4 separate regions of the Homo sapiens genome follow, and regions 1, 2 and 3 are each linked to region 4. The links are contacts of gene promoters, found by promoter capture Hi-C in blood cells and fetal thymus (Javierre and others, 2016). All regions are on one chromosome and are shown on one strand. Each heading gives the region's core, a stretch centred on a gene start or on the middle of the fragment in contact. The rest is flanking DNA. Distances are from core to core; before and after follow the strand shown. Region 1 has its middle 890 kb from the start of LINC01309. Region 2 has its middle 450 kb from the start of LINC01309. Region 3 has its middle 340 kb from the start of LINC01309. Region 4 holds the start of EFNB2 (ephrin B2).

The links. The method cuts DNA at HindIII sites, captures the fragments that hold promoters and counts their contacts. A CHiCAGO score of 5 or more calls a contact.
Region 1: a contact is called between a fragment that was not itself captured here and the fragment with the promoter of EFNB2 in region 4, in 1 of 17 cell types (fetal thymus). The highest score is 9.5, in fetal thymus.
Region 2: a fragment that was not itself captured here is called in contact with the fragment with the promoter of EFNB2 in region 4 in 1 of 17 cell types (megakaryocytes); the score reaches 8.5 in megakaryocytes.
Region 3: a fragment that was not itself captured here is called in contact with the fragment with the promoter of EFNB2 in region 4 in 1 of 17 cell types (fetal thymus); the score reaches 7.3 in fetal thymus.

The regions. Positions count from the first base shown.
Region 1 is chr13:104,310,282-104,313,189 of GRCh38, forward strand. No RefSeq gene overlaps it. Among named protein-coding and RNA genes, the nearest start is that of LINC01309, 890 kb to the left of the region's middle. The HindIII fragment of the contact is 8,470 bases long and covers 1-2,908 here.
Region 2 is chr13:103,876,889-103,879,881 of GRCh38, forward strand. No RefSeq gene overlaps it. Among named protein-coding and RNA genes, the nearest start is that of LINC01309, 450 kb to the left of the region's middle. The HindIII fragment of the contact is 340 bases long and covers 1,098-1,437 here.
Region 3 is chr13:103,768,459-103,771,166 of GRCh38, forward strand. No RefSeq gene overlaps it. Among named protein-coding and RNA genes, the nearest start is that of LINC01309, 340 kb to the left of the region's middle. The HindIII fragment of the contact is 2,703 bases long and covers 70-2,708 here.
Region 4 is chr13:106,534,402-106,537,399 of GRCh38, forward strand. EFNB2 (ephrin B2) reads right to left here and starts at 1,261. Exons shown (of 5, transcript NM_004093.4): 1 at 442-1,261. The coding sequence starts at 563. RefSeq lists a silencer at 1,049-1,708 and an enhancer at 2,289-2,358. The HindIII fragment of the contact is 2,990 bases long and covers 1-2,678 here.

The DNA of each region.
Region 1 (2,908 bases), core at 392-2,891, 2.2 Mb before region 4:
TAACAGGTAAAGACAAGAAATGCTGCTAAATATCTTACAATGCACTGGGTGGCCCTCAATCCAAATAATTATTTGACCCAAAATGTCAGTAGTGTCAATTTTTTTTTTAATGCTAGAAATTCTGGAAGAAAAAAAGGTGCAATGAGTGGTAAGTGTACTATAGAAAATTATTAGATAATGTTATAGTCAACCTCCAAATTTAAGTTGTGTGACAAAAGAGAAACATACTTTTACTCAAATAACCATTCAATGCAGGTGATCTTGGGCAGTGAATAAGAGGCTTTTCTCCCTGGGTTGATTCAGGCATTCAGTCTCCTTCCATTTTGTAGCTCTTTTTTTTTTTTTTTTTTTTAATCAGGAATGGCCCAAGAATCCTGTGTCTGTAGTGTGACGAGGGGAAAGAGTAAGTGAATGTGGCATATCAGCTTCTTAAATACCCACACATCACTTCTGACAGGTACTGATGTGGATACTTCTAGTTGCAAGAGGCTTAGGATAGTTAGTTTCTGGATAAACAGCTATGTTGCAATGAAACTCCCATACTATAGAAAGAGCATGGATTTTGGGAACAACTAGCTCATTCAAGACTCCATCTGCCCCTCTTACAAGAAAATAACTGCATGAGTTACTTTTTACTTGTACAGAGAACATTTTCCATCCTTTCCAAGGAAGACAAAGCAAAGTCCCATCCAGTGTCTGTATCCAGATCAGCCTTGAGGAGGATGAGACGAATCATCAGCTTCCTCATCTGTTCTACATGAAAGTTAGATGACACATCAGTCTCCCCATTGTTCCCACCACCAAAATCAAATTATAGAGTGATGGAGCCTCAGGTAATACTGCATAATACCCGAGAGTCACTAGGCCATATGAAATGTGCTATGCAGGCAGGGGGAGGGCCCCCTGCCCTTGCAATGAAGGAAGTTCCCTGACAAGTCTCTGAATCTGCTCTCTGTAAGGAAGTCTCATTGATTGAAAGATTCTTCCACTATACATCCTGTCTTCTGTTTCCAAATGCTGGGAACTTCCTCCTTGTTCAGTTTCTTCCTAGACCACATCTGAAAGAATGCCATCTTGGAGAAGAGAATGCCATCTTGGAGAAGAGAATGCCATCTTGGAGAATGCCATCTTGGAGAATGGCAGTTTCCTAGCCTGATTTTGGGTTTTTCACCATCATAGGATTACTTGGGCCAGACTCAAGGTATCCTTGGGAATATAATCCCCACAAATGCCATTGGCCTTTTGAGCTATTTCCTTCTGTTTTCAGTAACCCCAGGTAAAGTCATTGTCTCTGTGTAAATCTCAAGTTGGCCAATTTCTTCCGCCTATGTTTTCTCTCTTGTAAACCTAAAGGAGACCACTTTGAAACCATTTAAAACAATTTGGTGATTAAGATTAAGATTAAAACAGATTAAGGAAACCATTAATCTGATCTTTGCCACAGGGCTTAGCTTCCCTGTTTAAGTGATGATTCTTCCCCGACCTTGTTGTTCAAAGTTTTTACTTTCAGCCTTATTCATTTCACTCTGGTATTCAGCCAGGTTCCAGTTTTACAATGTGCCACATCTCTGCATTCTCTCTTTGGCCTTTACTTCTTATCTCAAACAAATTGACTTTTGCTCAATTTTATCTCTTGTTGCATCAAGAAACTACCATCACGTGCAACTAATAGTTATCTAACCTCGTATCTTGAAGCTATGGGCTTGGCCAGCGTGTGTTCTGATTTCCAAGTTATCACAGCTGGCAGCTATTGTAATGGGTCACCACACACATATTGTGACCAATCTTTATCTTCTCAGACTCTGGTATGTTTCCTGACTGTTCATCACTTGATTATTGAAGCAGTACTGCATGTTTTCTTTTCTTTGTGTATTTGCACTCTGAGACCTATGGAGTATTAGGTAAGAAATAATAGTCACACTTAGATACATTACAGTACAATTCAGAATTTTGAAAATTAAAAAATGCTAAAAGTTTTACAGAGAAAGAACAATAACAGCTCACAGTTATTCAGCCTTTTCTATTTGAAGGCCTAAGTATCTCTTTTAACTACATAATTTAACCATTACAATGATCTGAGGAGGTAACTAATATTATTATCATTACGTTACGGGCATGAAAACTAGGGCACAAATTATTTAAATAGCTTCCTCACATAACATGTATATATAGTAAGTGGTATATCCAAAATTCAAAATCTTAACTTTTAATCCTAGTCTATGCTAATTTTTCTAGTACCTTCGAAGGAATAAGAATCAGATATATAACATATGCTTCATTATCTCCAGTGAATGCAGCAGACAGTTAAGAAATATTGTTAAAGTATCAAGGCATGATAAATTTTATCCTGTGTTTTATACACAGCTAAAGGAAAATTCATGTTTGAGAAAATATATTACTATTTCAGATATGTAAGTGATTCAAAAACATACCACAAAGATTGGTTTACATATCAGTAAATATAGATGTAATCAAAGATATACAATTATGCACTGCAAGGCAATTACATTTGACCTAAAAGCGTAGCTAACAACAATATGGTACAGTGTGAAGTAAGAAACTGAGAACAGGATATGTTATAGGTATTTAGTGTCTCTATATGGTTAGAAAAATATAAAACTTAAACATGAAATATAAAAATGTGTTACTATTGAAAGAAGAAAAATCACATCTATAAAAATTCTTGGAACTGAGTGGGTGCTAAATAACTAAGTTAGGTGAATTATTTAATAAAATAGATGCAAATGAGACAAAAACAGATGGACCTTAATAAAGTTTGAAAGTCAGACTGTGTGGTGATCAGATGGTTGAGTATCCTGACAGCCCCACACATACAGGGTGTGTGCATTGCATTCACTTACAAATTCTTGCCCACAGCTCTTCACTGAATGTTAAAAAGAAATATTGG
Region 2 (2,993 bases), core at 18-2,517, 2.7 Mb before region 4:
ACCCATATATGTCAGCTGCAAAGAGATTTCCTTAATGTAACTAATGAATAGTACTGGTAATTAAATTTTTGATGCAATCTTATATATAAATATATGCTTCTCTCTTTTTAAAAAATGCCTCACTTAAACCATGTAACTAAGTTGTTGCTTTACCAATGTTAATGGACATTGCTCTAGACACAGTTTATCAAAGTATGTTAATTTTATAAATCAATTAAGCCCCATGATAAATAAAAATAAAAAGTAGGGGAACAAGGAGTTGCAAGGTAAGCCGAAATTATTCTGTTGGCCCTCATTGCAGCATTTATTGATTCATATGCCGTAAGAGAAATTGCAAATTCTGACTTTATAGAGCCTCACATTTTCTTCCTTATACAGTTTCCAGGCAGTTTTAGGCTCTTAGAGAAACATTCTCAGCATTGACGTGTCAATGAAGTTTAAACTATTAGTACCACTTTCGTGTACTTTAGCAACATTTTCTGATCTCAATCCCGTAGTTCAGTGAGCAGAAGCATACAATGTGGCAGTTATTTCATATTTCCATGATAGTTCAATTTTTTTATTGAGGCGATTCTAAGAAAAATGTATAAGCAGTGGCAAATTAAGGAGCTGGAAAGAAAATAAAAACGTTTCTTTTCTGTTCCACAACTGGAATTAAGTTTAAGCTGAATTACTGAGTCTTCACAAAGGCAAAATTTTTGACTCTTAATTTTGTTAATCTATTTCAGCTTATTTCTCAGGATAAATATATCATCTTTTTGTGCTAATTAGTACTTTCATAGAGAAAAAGTTTAATGATTAGTTATTATGCTTACCATTATTTTTATTTTAGCAAGGGTATTAATATTTTTTATCACTTACAGATTTTTTTCTTTTCAATATGAAAGACTTTGCAAAATTATTTTGACCTGGAAGTTCAGCGTATTATTGTTTGTTCCCTTATTATTATCCATTTTACTTTCCTTATTCCATTGTTGTTATTTAATTTAAAATATTTCATACGGGATGGCAAACCATGAACCTGGAAATAGAAAGCTGATGCATTTAAATAAGGTGCACTTGATATGGTAGCACCCAAATAGCCTGGAGGCTGTATAAGCTTTTCTGGACAGTATGATAATCAATTCATAAATTATGTACACCTGAGCCCTTTTCACCTTAGGCAGTTTCAGGATGTCCAAAAAAACTTCAAACTTAGCTCTTTCAAATCAATGGTTTAAGCCATCTTAATAACCAATTAGCATCACTGCAGAAATAGTGTAATCCATTATGAATATTTAAGTATTAACAGTTTAAGAATCTTAAAAGATTTTATGCCAAATGTGTAAACATACTCTTTATCTTTCTAGCTTTAAACTCTTCCTCCTTTGCTGCTGTCTGTGTGCATTTTTACCAAAGGTAGAGAGAATTTATTCTCTTAACGAAGAGAGAAATGGAAGCTTGCCCTCATAACCTTTGTTATAACAGAATACTAGACCTTGAAGAAAAGAGAAATTGTAAAGAAACATTGAAAATGAAGCGTTGGTCAACTGTGGCTCATGAGAAGAAAACCATGCTGGTCAAAGATTTTAAGAATTTTTGCCATTTTGGCTGAAACCCCCACCCCAAAACACACACCCAAATCAAGAGATTTCCACATGAAATGTATCACCCCATGCAGTGGCATAAATGTGGTGGGTGAGAAGGGAACATCTCTTTTTCTTGACTGTGCATGTTTTATAATAAAAATACTAGATTGCCAATTAATTGACCTTAGCTGTTGTAAAATTACTAATCCCTAAGTATCTTTTATTGGAGAGTTAATTATTTTCTCAATATTAAGCAATCTTCTTAAGACTCTTCAAGAAATTGAAATAAACATGAATTCATATAGAGCTAATTTTCAATAAAAAGTGAAATGATTATAAAAGTGAATAGAATCTCAGAAGAAATAAGGGAGGGTATTAGAATAACCCATTGATCAAATCAATGAAATTTGAAACATGAATGAAACTTATACGTGAATGTTCTCTGTGAATTACATTCATTACCTTAGTAGGAAGCCTGTTTCTTAGTTTCATAGATAGAAAGCTGACAAAATATTTTGTTTGGTTTTTAATTCATTCACGATTGTCAATTGTGCATTTACTTTGTGGTGAGTCTATTTTTTAACCCTGTTCTTTGAAGTGTTAGAACAAAGATATTCCTTTGTTTCCACAGGGAAGACTTTAAATGTTTGAAATTAGTCACTATGTTTTCTTCTTTGAATATGGTCTTTCTTCCAAGTTAACAATCTAATATGTCCAGTTGTTTTTTATATAAAATTCTATTTTTATCCATCAATCTCCTGTTGACATATCAAGCCCAGTATTTCAGATATTTATACTTAACATTCCAAGAAGAGGCTATGCTTTTCACATTTATGTACACTCAACTTTTATTAAGGCAACATATGCTTTTCTTTTTAGCAGCTTCTTGGCACTGTTGGTGATTATTGAGTTACAGCCAAGTCAGGTCTGATAACCACAAACTACTGTCTGCAGTATTTACTACTTTACATTTCTTTTTCTCTCTCTCTCTCTCTTTTTTAATCTAAAGCATGCCTTGAGATTAGTTTTTATCAGATTCCATGTTCTTGGTATTCACTCAGCATTCCAGTCTTTTGAGATAACCTGAATCTCAATTTTGTCATCAACTATTACATTGTTTACGCCTTCCAGTGTTGTATCCTCTCAAATTTGAAAAGTGACATGTGCAGCCTTGTTCATAATCTGCACCCTGTCTCTCCTTCACAGGTGGAACCAATTGATCCATGTCTGTAGCATAGACTACTGCCTAATTCTAAGAGCTATCTTTCTCAGATAGAAAATATTTAAGCAGTTTCAGCTTCACTTTCAACAAAAATATTTATGGTATCATGTGGATATGATATAAAATGTAGACTGATTGTTGGTATTATTATGTAGATTTTAATGTGATTTAATATCTATAGCTAAATTGTAAGGTATGTCATT
Region 3 (2,708 bases), core at 171-2,670, 2.8 Mb before region 4:
CAGAGATTCCCAGACCACAATTCTTGTCTTCTGTGGACCTGAGGCCCAACAGCACGTGAAAGCTGCCAAAGCTTGGGGCTTGCACCCTCTGAAGCCATGGCCTGAGCCATACCTTGGCCACTTTTAGTTATGATTGTATCAGCTGGGACTCAGGGCACCAAGTCCTGAGACTCACAGAGCCAGGTAGCCCTGGACCCAGCTCAGGAAACCATTTTTTCCTCCTAGGCCTCTGGGATTGTGATTGGAGGGGCTGCCATGAAGGTCTCTGACATGCCCTGGAGATATTTTCCCTATTTTCTTGGTGATTAACATTTGCCTCCTCATTATTTATACAAATGTCTGCATCCTGCTTGAATTTCTCCCCAGGAAACTGGGTTTTCTTTTTTATTGCATAGGCAGGCTGCAAATGTTTTGAACTTTTATGCCTTGCTTCCTTTTGAATACACTGCCACTTAGAAATGTCTTCCACCAGATACCCTAAATCATCTCTCTCAAGTTCAAAGTTCCATAGATCTCTAGGGTAGAGGCAAAATGCTTCCAGTCTCTTTGCATAGCAAGAGTGATCTTTACTCCTTGGAACTTTACTCCAGTTCCCAACAAGTTTCTCATCTCTATCTGAGACCACCTCAGCCTGTACTTAATTGTCCATGTCACCATCAGCATCTTGGTCAAAGCCATTCAACGAGTCTCTAGGAAGTTCCAAACTTTCCCACATCTTCCTGTCTTCTGAGCCCTCCAAGTCTCTGGGAAGTTCCAAACTTTCCCACATTTTCCTGTCTTTTTCTGAGCCCTCCAAGCGTTCTAACCTGTGCCTGTTACCCAGTTCCGAACTCACTTCCACATCTAGGGGTATCTTTATGGCAGCACCCCACTCTACTGGTACCAATTTACTATATTAGTTTGTTCTCACACTGCTGATAAAGATGCATGGGAAACTGGGTAATTTATAAAGGTTTAATTGACTCACAGTTCAGTATGGCTGCAGAGGCATCAGGAAACTTACAATCATGGCAAAAGGGAAAGCAAACACATGGCAGCAGCAAGGAGAAGTGCAGAACAAAGAGAGGGAACGGCCCCTTATAAAACCATCAGATCTTGTGAGAACTCACTCACTATCACGAGAATAACATGGAAGTAACCACCCCCATGATTCAATTATTTTTCATGGGGTCCCTCCCATGACACATGGGGATTATGGGAACTACAGTTCAAGAAGAGATTTGGGTGGGGACACAGCCAAGCCATATCACTTCACAAGTGTATTATACTGAAGTCTATACGTGGTAGATCACAGTGCTTATGCTTTGCCTAACTTTGTGGTATAATCAACTTCCACTCTGAGATTACAAAGAGTCAGAAATTTAAAAAAGTAAATGTGCTTAGTTCCACCCAGTCAAATAATTTTAATTACAAATTTACTTTTTAAATAAGGCACCCCTGGTGTATGGTCCTGATGAATTTTGGCACTAACTCATGTTCTGTTTGGCAATCCTTAACCTGTATTATGTAGAAACCTGAGTTTTGGGACTATGTATTGAGCAGCTTCCTGGATTAATTCAACCTAAATAGATCGGTTTTCCATTTCGGTCTCTAAGCTGCTAAGCCCTGCCATGGAAAATGGCAAATGTGTATTAGAGACCTTGCCGCAGAAGTATGACTTCCTGTGATGCTCAACAATACATCTCTTGCTAGACTCAGCCTCTTCTTCTCACTCAACAAGTATCTGTTCTTTGCTTTAGCATTTTCTTCCAGTGGATTTGTGATAGCAGCTAGCCATTCCCAAATCAGATTCTTTCAGAGCCTCCAAATGGTTGAGGCAGTTTCTATCTTGGCCAAAGTCACTTATCTCCTTTTTGCTTCATTTTCTTCACCTGTTAAATGGGATAAAAGTAGTATTCATATCATAGTGTTGCTTTGGATGAAGATTAAATGATTTATTTAATAATATACTGCATATAACATTATGTGGCACATGGTAAGTACTATACAGAAAGTACAACCTGTTGTTCCTCTTCTTATCACTGTCATCATCATCAGTAATAATAGTAACATTGGTATTAGGATTGATGACCCTAAACCTTAAACTGAGAACATTTACCTTACATTACTTGGAATTTGTTTCTTTGTATGACAAAGTTCAGATGTATGCTCTTATTTCTAATTGCACAATAAAATCTCCCAACATCATTACCAAAAATGGAGTTAGAGACAGCTGCAAAGATTCCATGTGCTCTAGGGAGAGAAACATGACCCCTCAAAACTTTAAAAATAGTTCAGACTCTTTGCCCAAGTCCCTGAATAACTTAGGTGTAATATAAAGATAACTGCCTTCCAAAAGCAAACACAGAATTTTACTCTCTTGGCTACAGGAAAGATACTGGGCAATTCTGAGGTCCTTTCCCAATTGACATAGGCAAAAGTCCCTTGTGAAATGTCCTAGGGCCACAGACCAGGAACATTCAGGTTACATATAATCGGTATGTTTTTATTATTATTAACAGGTTGTTGCAAAGGACAGTTAACATGTGAGATCTTTAACTTTCTGTTATAATTAAACCTAGTAAAATTTGAGGATAGAAGACCAAAGTTATCAAAGACTGAATGGGAATGTGATACCACAAATGGTAATTCTCAAAGGAAGGGATGGGGTGAACAAAGCTATATCTTACTGGATGGATAGTCCAGTTTATGTAGATTATGTAGACAGT
Region 4 (2,998 bases), core at 11-2,510:
CGCCCGCCCGCGGGCCCCGGACCACGCCGCCCGCGCTCCCCGCGAATGCAGCATCTCCGCCTCTCTCCAGAGCCCACCAGTCCCCGCGTGCCGGCCAGCCTAGATTGTGGCCATGTCCTTCGTCCTCGAAAACAGGAGAGGGTCAGGTATCGCCATCGGACACCTTCCCGGACTTGACACCCGAGCCGATAGTAGCTTTTAGCGCCTGGGAGCGTTCGGGGGAGGAAAGGCGGAGAGACCGTCCGTTCCAGCGGGGCTCGGGTTGGAAAGCCGAGCGAGGAGTCTCCACCTAGTGAAATGGGGCGGGGGTTGGGGGTGGGGGACGGGGAACCGAGGTTCCAGAAACAGGCTCCGAGGCCCCGCGGACTGACCCCTCCTCCCGCCCGGACGGCGCGGCGGACCCCGGGGCGGGGACATAGGGGGATCGCGGACGCCACTTACTTGGAGTTCGAGGAATTCCAATAGATAGGCTCTAAAACTATCGATTTGGAAATCGCAGTTCTGCATAAAACCATCAAAACACCCCAGCAGTACTTCCACACGGAGTCCCTTCTCACAGCCATGGCGAAGCCACTCCCAGCTCCGCGCACTCCGGGCCAAGAAGGGACTGACGGGACGCAGGCTGGGACCCCCAATCCTCCGGGGCAGACTGGCGGGGAAGACGGCGTGCGCCCGCAGGCAGCTCCGAGGCGCGCTGCGCAGCTCCAGCGGTCGCCGGGCCAGGTGCGCTCGCTCTCCGGGGCCCTCAGGGCGCGGGGCGGGAGCGCACGCGCGGGGCGCGGCGGCGCGGCGGACTCGGGGTTCCGGGGCGCCGCGCCGGACGCAGCTCGGACGGCCGACTCCCGTGCGGCTCCAGGGTGCCGGGCCGGCCGCGGCTGGCGGGTGGGCGCGGGGCGGGTGCGGGCTGGGACACAAAGACCCGGAGCGGAGACGACCGGCGCGGGCGGCGGGCGCTGCGCCCCGAGCGGGGCCGCCTGTGACTATAGATCCAGTGCAGCGGGCAGCGGCCCGAGCGCGCGGGCGCCGCGTCGGCGCGGTTCCATGTCCCGGAGCACGGAGCGGAGTAGGGCGCCTCCGGGCGCGCAGGAGCCTTCTCAGTCCGCGCGGCTCCCGGCCCCCAGGGCAGGAAAGAGGGAGCTCGGTCCCCGCCGCGGGCTCCGGACGCGCGCGGGCCTTTGTGTGCGGGGAGGGCGCCGGGACCCGCTGCGTGCGCAGCTCCTCGCTCCGGCCGGCGCCGCGGTCCCCGCCGAGGAGAGTCAGCGCGGCCGCCGCGCTGTCAGAGCGCTATAAACGCGGGGCCCCGCCCCGCCGCGCGAAGCCCATTGGCCCGCGGCTCCGCGGCCGCGCGCTGGTTGGACGGCCGGTCCGTCCGTCCGCCATCCCCTCCCGACATTGGGTGCCGCGAGGCGGGGCTCGGGCTGACAGGTGAGCCCCGCCCCTGGCTCCCGCGGGCGGCGGGAGCGGAGCAGAAGCCGGGCAGGAGAAGCGCTCAGCGCGTGCACAGGGCGCCCCCGGGGCGGCGAGAGGCCTTCTGGGCGCGGTGCAGACGTGGAAACAGCGACGGCCGAGTAGCGGGCCACCTGTCTCCGCGCCCGGGGGCGCCTTCCCCCTCGGCGGAATCAGAGGGCGCGGCTTTCCCTCGAGCAGTGCGGAAGGCAGCAGGCTCCGCTCGGCGTCCCTTCTCCGCAGATGCGGCGCTGCCCCGCGTGCAAGACTTGCACTCCGCGCGCACCCTTAGAGCTCCCGGCTTCTGCGCGCTTCTCCCGACGCCTCTCGGCGAGGGCTTCTCACTTGATTTTGGTACCAATCGCCTACGGCTCAGTTTCAGTCAGTGGGGCCGGGAATTGCAAGACGATTCCTGCGACGCGGCGCCGGAATTTGCAGCTCTAATCAGGGCCTGAGCATCGTCGCCTCCCGCCTTCTCTGCGGGCGTCTCCCTTCCCTCCTGGCCCCCCGGGAAGGTGGCGCCCCTGGAGCTTTCCCCGCGTGTCGCCGGCACAGGCACGACGCGGGGACCGTCTCACTAGCCTCTAGGAGACACGCGCGCTTCCCAAAGTGACCAGAGATTTAGAGGGTGTGAGATGGAAAAGTCAAGGCATGTGCTTCTCACTCGGCGTCTGCAAGACCCCAGAGCAGAGCTGGCAGGAACTCCTCGCTACTTTCCCGGTCGAGCGCCGGTGCTGACGCTCGTCCGTGACTTCCACGGAGCCACAGCGCCCACTAGCGGCCAGCTTTGCTTCTCCGCATCTCGAGCGCTCTGCGGTCCACCGACCCGGATCCAGCATACTGCAGCATCTAATCAAGTCACAGTTCCAAGGAAAATCTTTTTATATGTCCAACAGTAGGAAGAACACGGTAGAAATAAGGCACAGTGCAAATGTACGATTCAGTATGAAAAATTAAAATATACTGTATGCCCACGTTTTTTTTCAATTTAATGCCGTCCACCCCAGGATTTATGTTTCAAACACAAACTGGGCAGTAATTCTACAAATTATGTATTTTTAAAACAAAGTATCCACTACGCTAAATTTAAAAATGCATATGGTAAAACACCTTGTTTTCTTTCACTCTTCTTTGTAACAATTTCTGAAGATTTTTATGGTACGTTGCTTTTAAGTATCCGTTTTTGAAACATTAGTCTAACTTAACGTATACATCTCAGTTGGAGTGGTAAAAGCTTGTGAAGACTAGTTTAAGATAGAAAACACATTAAGGCATACAAAGTACTGAATACACTTACTCTTCCAAACAGATCTTTGAGAGCAGAAAAGTTTCATAATTTATTTTCATTTTAAATAAGCCTTCAAACTAAATATATATATACACACATATACGTATACACACATATACACATATTTATACATATATACACATATGTACGTATATATATACACACACATATATACGTATATATATACACATATATATATGCACACACACACATATATATATAAAATTTATTTTAAAAAGGCTCCACCACGGTATGACGATTTGA